Linked DNA regions of Homo sapiens: regions 1 and 3 are each linked to region 2. Evidence: promoter capture Hi-C in human tissues and cell types (Jung and others, 2019). All regions are on one chromosome and are shown on one strand. Each heading gives the region's core, a stretch centred on a gene start or on the middle of the fragment in contact. The rest is flanking DNA. Distances are from core to core; before and after follow the strand shown. Region 1 has its middle 63 kb from the start of TPK1. Region 2 holds the start of TPK1 (thiamin pyrophosphokinase 1). Region 3 has its middle 35 kb from the start of TPK1.

Region 1 (2,700 bases), core at 47-2,546, 63 kb after region 2:
AATTTGGTATTTGCATTGTAATATTTCTATTTTGGTTTTTTTTTTGGCAAATTTCTTTTCTCTTGCTTTTTTTTTTTTTTTTTTTTTTAAAGACAGTTTCACTCTTGTTGCCCAGGCTGGAGTGCAGTGGCACGATTTCAGCTCATTGCAACCTTCGCCTCCTGGATTCAAGTGATTCTCCTGCCTCAGCTTCCAGAGTAGCTGGGATTACAGGTGCCTGCCACAACGCCCGGCTAAGTTTTTTGTATTTTTAGTAGAGGTAGGGTTTCACCATGTTGGCTAGGCAGGTCTCGAACTCCTGACCTCATGTAATCCACCCGTCTCGGCCTCCCAAAGTGTTGGGATTACAGGCATGAGGCACCATGCCCAGCCTTTTGGCATATTTCTTAATTGGTCCACTCCTCAGTTTTATCATCTTTGAGATGAAATAAAAATCTGTGTCTCAGATTTGGAAAACTCAAGGGAAAGCTCTTCATAAGGAGCTACGTAGATTTGAAAGATGATATTATTAGTGTGGCATATGGAATGAGCAGCAAAGCCTCGACCTTTTATCCCCCTCATCACAAAGTTCCTTTGTAGAGCTTTTTTCAAAAGCTTAGAAAACAACTACTAAGACAAATATTTGTGTTCTCTTCTTAATAATTAAAATAGGCTATTAGGTCAGAGCAATTAAAATACAAACATCAAGCAAAAGAAAAGAAAATGATGCTTTTCCAGGATAAAAGAAACCATTTGGCTCAGAGGATAGGGCAATCTGATGTTAATTGAGAAAATTCTTTCTTTCTCAATATCAGATAGGACTATGTAGTCTGAAAATGGTTAATGAGAGTTTTAAGTAGCTGTGCTTAAGAACTATTTGATGTCATTCGGAGTTCTGAGGCCTGAAGGTCTCACTGGCAAATAATATCGAAAGGAAGCTCAGACTGGAGAATCATGATCCCACTTTACAATAGCACTGGAGCCCACTTTCTTCTGTTTAAAGATCAACGTGATGAAGGCTGTACTTGGGGGCTCATGCCTGTAATCCTAGCACTTTGAAAGGTGGAGGCAAGGAGAATCATTTGAGGCCAGAAACTCAAGATCGACTTGGGCAACATAGCAAGGCCCTGCCTCTACAAAAAATAATAAAAATATTAGCCAGGTGTGGTGGTGTGCACCTGCAGTCCCAGCTACCCAAGAGGCAGAGGATCATTTTTGAGCCCAGGAGTTCAAGGTTGCAGTGAGCTATGATCACATCACTACATTCCACCCTAGGACACAGAGAAACACCCTGTCTCTAGAAAATAAAGATCAATGTTATGATGGGTGTTATTGTCTACTGGCTGAAGCATTCCCAGGAGCCTCTTAAGCCTGCTTGATTCACACTTGGGCATGGTATTGGGTGAAGGGAAGAAGGATCCATAGGAAGAGATTTCTTTCAATAGGAGGAGGTAGCAGTTTCCCCAAGGAAAAAAATTTGGAAATTCATAGTTAACATTGTACGTGTGTGTATATGTGTGTGTTGAGTACATTTAAGATCTACTTTCTTAACAGCTTAAAGTATGTAATACTGATATGGCTTGGCTATATTGACCCCCAAATCTCACCTTGAATTGTAATAATCCTCACATGTGGTGGGAGGGAACTAGTGGGAAGTAATTGAATCATGGGGATGGGTTTTTCCTGTGCTGTTCTCATGATAGTAAGTCTCAGGAGATCTGATGGTTTTATGGGGAGTTCCTCTGCACATGCCCTCTTGCCTGCTGCCATGTTAGACGTGCCTTTGCTCTTCCTTTGCCTTCCACCATGATTGTAAGACCTCCCCAGTCATGTGGAACTGTGAGTCCATTAAACCTCTTTCCTTTATAAAATACCCAGTCTTGAGTATGTCTTTATTAGCAGCATGAGAACAGACTAATACAAATACAGTATTTTTTTTTTCTGTTACCATGGGTAAGTTGCAATCCAGTATTATTAACTACAGTTACTGTGTTGTACGTTAGATCTCCAGAACCTATTCATCCTGCATAACTGAACTTTGCAGACTTTGACCAACATCTCCCTATTTCCTGCAACCTTTATCCCCTGAAAACCACCACTCTGCTTTCTGTTTCTGAATTCAACTTTTTTACATTATATAAATGAGATAATGCAGTATTTATCTTTCTGTGCTTGGCTTATTATTTTTTTTTTCTAGCATGACGTCCTTCAGGTCCATTCATGTTGTCGTAAATGACAGAATGTTCTTTTTTAAGGCTGTATAGTATCCATTGTGCATGTATATATATACATATCATGTTTTCTTTATCCAGCTATAATGAACACTTAGGTTGTTTCCATATCTTGGTTGTTGTGAATAATGCTGCAATGGACATGAGAGTGCAGCTGTCTCTTTGACATACTGATTTTATTGTTTTGGATATATATCCAGAAGTGGGACTCCTGGATCATATGATAGTTTTGTTTGTTTTTATTTTTTGAGAAAACTCCATACTGTTTTCTATAATGTCTGTACATACATATATATATTCGGAAGGCTGGGGGTGTACAAGTGTTCCCTTTTCTCCCCATCCTTGCCAATGCTTGTTATCTTTTGTCTTTTTGATCATAGCCATTCTAATAAGTGTGAGTGATGCCTCGTTGTGGTTTGAATTTTTAGTTTTTTGATAATTAGAGATGTTGAACATTTTATACTTCTTGGCCATTTCCATGCCTTCTTTT
Region 2 (2,863 bases), core at 1-2,500:
GCCAGCCCATTCACCAGATGAGGCAAAAACCCAAGATAAATATCTGAGCAAGTCACGTAGACTGGGGCCCCCGAGCCCCAATACCAAGCGCCCCTTTATAAGCTCTTACATTTTGTCCAAATTTGAAATGGTTTCGTTAAGGCAGAAGCTTGGACTACTTCCCCATTGCTAGCTTTGGAAAGTAGTCACTTTCCTTTCCGGGCCCTTCGTCCTTGTTGATTGGCTCTGCAAGCAGCGAGCAGCCCAGCCTGAACTCGGTTACACAGTAATTTCAAATCTTAGAAGAATAAAATATCCTGAGTGTTATATAGATTTAAAACACTTGATATAATCATTTGCCAATCTTTTATTAGATAAGCTCGGGGCACTTTCAATGGATTAAAAATGCATCACGGTCAGGCAACGATGACCGTCCTTAATGCCTGCAATGTCTAATGTTCCGCTATGTTCCAGATTTGTTCGCGCTGTTGGTGGAGGCGCAACAGCCGGGAAGCGCTTACTGGGCTCCACACGGACTACACACACTGTATCTTGTCATTTCGTCCTCACAGCAAGGACTGATACGTAAGCTCATTTTTCAGATGAGGAAAATGAGACCGGCGAGAGGCTGATATGCTTAGCGGTACAGAGCTAGGAAATCAGGGACAGAACCCAGGCTGGAAGTCACGCTGGCTCTAGAGCCCCGTCCTTTCGACCTGTTCCCGTCGCTGGGGAGGGGCACGTCAGTGACACTAAACCGTGGAAAGAAATACAGTACCAGTGGAAAGCAGGGGCTCCAACGGGGTAAAGGCATGCTCCATAACGGATTATTGGCCTCTGCATTAAAAAAAAAAAAGTGAAGTTAGACTCTCAGTTTTAATTAAACATCGCGCAGAACCAACAGCACGGGAGCCGCCTGAACCTGGCACTCGGCAGCGGCGCGCTCCGGGACCCAGGAGCCAGCTGAGCTGCGGCGCAGCACCCGGCGCTGGGGACCCGCCACGGCTCGCCTACAGCACCGCCGCGGGCGGGGGCCCCCGGAGACCGGCCGCGCGGGCCGCTATGAGGTCCGAGGGGTTGCCCCTGCCGCCTCTCTCCGCGAACCCATCACCATCCGGGAACCTGGGGAGCGAGAGGCGGCCGCCCCCTTCCGCGGCCCGCGCGCCCGGCAGCAGTCGCACTTACACAATGGCTGGTAGGAGCCACAGACTGGAGATCGCAGGCTGCGGGAGCTACGGCGATCGACCGCTCGGCGCTCGGCTGAGGAGCCTTGGCGCGCGGTCCTCGCTCGCAGGTTTTAGCCCCCGGGACGCGAGGTGGCCCCGCCCGCTTCCGGGAGCCGGAGGCAAGTGGGAGCCGCGCCCTGTGCTCTGCGTCCGGCACTACCCACCTCAAGTCTCCAAGGCTTCGTTTTCTGGGCTGGTTCTGCTAGCTGTAGTACTGCTGCCGGGCCCTCTGCACTCAGCTTTAACAAGGAGGCCATTTGCTTCAAACTAAGTGGCGAATTCCCTATCACCCATGCTTGACCTAGCTTCCAAGCCAAACTTACTTTCCACTGTGCTGCTTCTAGTCCTGCTACCGGTGTCCTCCCTGAGCCGTCGGGTTAAAAGCTTTCCTTCCTGGCCGGGTGCGGTGACTCACGCCTGTAATCCCAGCAGTTTGGGAGGCCGAGGCGGACGGATCATGAGGTCAGAAGTTCGAGACCAGCCTGGCCAGCATGGTGAAACCTCGTCTCTACTAAAAATACAAAAAATTAGCCGGGCATGGTGGCGCGCGCCTGTAGGCCCAGCTACTCGGGAGGCCGAGGCAGGAGAATCGCTTGAACCCGGGAGGCCGGAGGTTGCAGTGAGCCAAGATCACACCAGTGCACTCCAGTCTGGGCGACAAAGCGAGACTCCATCTCAAAGAAAAAAAAAAAGCTTTCTTTAGGGAACACTCCGTTAAGAGCTTTCCTTACTTTGCTTTGTGGAAACAGAATGTTTTTGTTGGAAGAAACTTTAAGCCACCTATCTGCAGCTGCAGAGCGTCACTGTTGCAATACAGGCTTTTCCAATAGTGAGCGAACCTAATCTCCCTCTACCCTCTTAAGGTTTCCACCTGGGCCTAAGAGGTTAAATTGACTTAAGACAGTTTAACAGGGGAAAAGCTTACAGCTATGTGCATGGGAGTCCACAAGAAAAGACCCAAAGAAGGAGGAAGCCTAAATGCTTATATACGGGTTTAGCTACAACAAATTTCAAAAGTCCATGTTTAAATATGACCTTAATGAACCTAAAAGACAATTGGGGTACAAGGAAACTATCTGCACATGTAATAGACAAGTGGTTGCCATGTGTTTATCCTATGAAGAGCTGTTACCAGTTGATGTGTCCAGGTTCTTGGCGTCTTGAACAAAGAATTGGACAAAACGCACAAAGCAAGGAAAGAATGAAGCAAAAACAGAGATTTATTGAAGATGAAAGTACACCCCATAGGTTGGGAGCGCCCGAGGATAGGGGCTCAAGAGTGCCGTTAGAGAATGTTCTGGGGTTTAAATGCCAGCTAGAGGTTTCCATTGGTTACTTGGCTTATGCCCTATGTAAATGAAGAGGATGAAGTAAATTTTAAAGTCATTTACTGGATATAAGCCCTGTGTAAATGGAGAGGATGTTTCCTGTCATTGCTGAAGTACTGCAATTTGATTTAGTTCCAGGAAGTCAGCATGAATCGGCCTTAACATTCCCTGCCTCCAGACCCTATTCTGCCTCAGAACTACATGTCCATTAGTAAAAGGCAAACCAGAAAAATTATGACCAAGGATATAAACAGGCAAGGCAAATTATAGAAGGTAGTCAAATGGCAAAAACACATCACCAATATTCAGAACGAAATCTTGAACAATGAA
Region 3 (2,700 bases), core at 51-2,550, 35 kb after region 2:
TGCTGTGTTGCTTAATCTTTAGTCATGCATTCAGCCAAGCTTTATGACTGTCTCCCATGTGCCAGGTTGGTGAAACTGTGGGAGAAAGCTGTGTTTTAACAGAAAGGATATAGGGCCGGGCACGGTGGCTCACACCTGTAATCCCAGAACTTTGGGAGGCTGAGGTGGGTGGATCACCTGAGGTCAGGAGTTCGAGACCAGCCTGGCCAACACGGTGAAACCCCATCTCTACTAAAAATACAAAAAATTAGCTGGGCGTGTTGGCAGGTGCCTGTAATCCCAGCTACTCAGGAGGCTGAGGTAGGAAGATCACTTGAACCCAGGAGGCGGAGGTTGCAGTGAGCTAAGATCGAGCCATTGCACTCCAGCCTGGGCAACAAGAGTGAAACTCCATCTCAAAAAAAAAAAAAAAAAAAAAAAGCGGGGGCGGGGGGTATAGTCATCAGATTTGGACATCTTTGTATTTGAATCAGGCCTTCCTATTTGCTATTCATGTGACTTTAGAAAAAACATATAACAGATAAAGAGTATTTGCCATTAATATTTGCTCTCTAGACAAAGACTGACAAGAACATTAAGTGGGGCCTTCCCCCTTGCCCCTGAGTAGGAAGAAGGCTTGGGTATGTACAGGAAGAGGTGAGGTCCACCAAGAAAAAAGGATCAGACTGTGGTTCTCAAACACCTGCTTTCAGAGAGGTAGACATTTTTATGAGAAACAAAAGACTACTACATTTTTTTTTAAGAGATGGGATCTTGCTGTGTTGCCCAGGTTGGACACCAACTCCTGGGCTCAAGGAATCCTCCCACCTCAGCCTTCCAAGTAGCTGGAACTTTAGGCATGCTTGGCTAAGATGATCATTATCCAGTGTACTGTAGTAGCCTGCTAGGACCATCACAGACTGAGTGGCTTAGCAACCTCTGCCTCCCGGGTTCAAGCGATTCTCCTGCCTCAGCCTCCCAAGTAGCTGGGATTACAGGCATGTGCCACCATGCTGGGCTAATTATTTATATTTAGTAGAGATGGTGTTTCACCATGTTGGTCAGGCTGGTCTCGAACTCCTGACCTCAGGTGATCCACCCGTCTCAGCCTCCCAAAGTGCTAGGATTACAGGCATGAGCCACTGTGCCCAGCCAGATATTTATTTTCTCATGGCTCTTAGAGGCTAGACATTCAAGAGTATGAGCCTGGCAGGGTTGAATCCTGGTGAAGCCTCTATCTTTGGATTGAAGATGGCTGTCTTCTTGGCTGTGTCCTCCCATGCTCTCAGTGTTTCTTTCTCTTCTCCTTCTTTCTTTCTTCTTCTTTTTTTTTTTTTTTTTGAATCAGGGTCTGACTCTGTTACCCAGGCTGGAGTGCAGTCGCACGATCAGAGCTCAATGCAGCCTCCAACTTCTGGGCTCAAGCAATCCTCCCACCTCAGCCTCCCAAAGCACTGAGATTGCAGGCCACCACACCCAGCCTTCTTTCTTTTCTTTTCTTTTTTTGTTTTCTTTTCTTTCTTTTTCTTTTTTTTTTTTTTTTGAGACAGAGTTTTGCTCTTGTTGCCCAGGCTGGAGTGCAATGGCATGATCTCGGCTCACTGCAGCCTCTGTCTCCCAGGTTCAAGCAATTCTCCTGCCTCAGCCTCCTGAGTAGCTGGGATTACAGGCGTGTGCCACTATGCCCAGCTAATTTTATATTTTTAGTAGAGATAGGGTTTCTCCATGTTGGTCAGGCTGGTCTCAAACTCCCTACCTCAGGTGATCCGCCAGCTGTGGCCTCCCAAATTTCTGGGATTACAGGCATGAGCCACTGCACCCAGCCTTCTTTCTCTTTTTATAAAGACTCCAGTCCTACTGAATTAGGGGCCCAGCCTTATGACCTCATTTTACCTTAACCTCTTCCTTAAAGACCCCGTATCCAAACTCAGTAACATTGAAGGTTAGGGCTTCACATATAAATTTTGGGGTGAAACAATTCAGTCCATAACATTCAGGAAAGCCATTGATTGTATTTTATAAGGTGCATAATGAAATGCAATGTGGCAACTATTATTTATTTGTGGCTTTCCCCCATCACATTCTCACTCTCTCACGCATGTATACACACATGTGCACACACGCACACACATTCACACACACAGACATCCCTGCCTATCTCACAATCACACAGACAAGCTTGCCTTAGTGCTTTGCATCTGATTCTGAGTTTTCTACAAGATTTTCTGATATTCATAATGCATGGCTAGTGATTGTTATTGTTTATTTATATTTCTAGTGATTGATTATTTCAGGGCACGGTTTTACCCCATTCTACAAATCTGGTTTGAAGATAATAACAATAATAATAATAGTGGTAGTAAGTAATTTATTGAGTGCTGAGGATGGTACTTATTTCATTTGCTTATTTAATTTTCACAACAATCTGTTGAAGTGGAAACTATTACTGTCCCTATCTCACAGATGAGGAGCTAAGCTTCAGGAGGTAGCGACTTGCCTTAAGCCTTATAATTAGTACATTCCAGGCTGCCTGACTTTAAAGCCAGTGCTCTTAACCTCTGTACGGGGGAAATTTCACACATTGACAAAAATCTGAGAGCCCCGACAAGTCTCCTCTATCTTTATCTTGCAACTGGATTTTGAGCCTAGTTAATCCTCGAGTTAGATTTTTAGTCTTTCCCTGAGTGAGGGGTGCACTGGATAGGGTCTCCTGCCTATACC

What was found. Contacts are between HindIII fragments. The study calls those that stand out against the background at their distance.
Region 1: a fragment that was not itself captured here is called in contact with the fragment with the promoter of TPK1 in region 2 in 1 of the 25 tissues and cell types used here (mesendoderm cells).
Region 3: a fragment that was not itself captured here is called in contact with the fragment with the promoter of TPK1 in region 2 in 1 of the 25 tissues and cell types used here (mesendoderm cells).

The regions. Positions count from the first base shown.
Region 1 is chr7:144,897,944-144,900,643 of GRCh38, forward strand. No RefSeq gene overlaps it. Among named protein-coding and RNA genes, the nearest start is that of TPK1, 63 kb to the left of the region's middle. The HindIII fragment of the contact is 4,489 bases long and covers 1-2,700 here.
Region 2 is chr7:144,834,803-144,837,665 of GRCh38, forward strand. TPK1 (thiamin pyrophosphokinase 1) reads right to left here and starts at 1,251. Exons shown (of 9, transcript NM_022445.4): 1 at 1,165-1,251; 2 at 758-816. The coding sequence starts at 800. RefSeq lists a silencer at 992-1,091 and an enhancer at 1,392-1,461. The HindIII fragment of the contact is 4,228 bases long and covers 869-2,863 here.
Region 3 is chr7:144,869,649-144,872,348 of GRCh38, forward strand. No RefSeq gene overlaps it. Among named protein-coding and RNA genes, the nearest start is that of TPK1, 35 kb to the left of the region's middle. The HindIII fragment of the contact is 3,133 bases long and covers 1-2,700 here.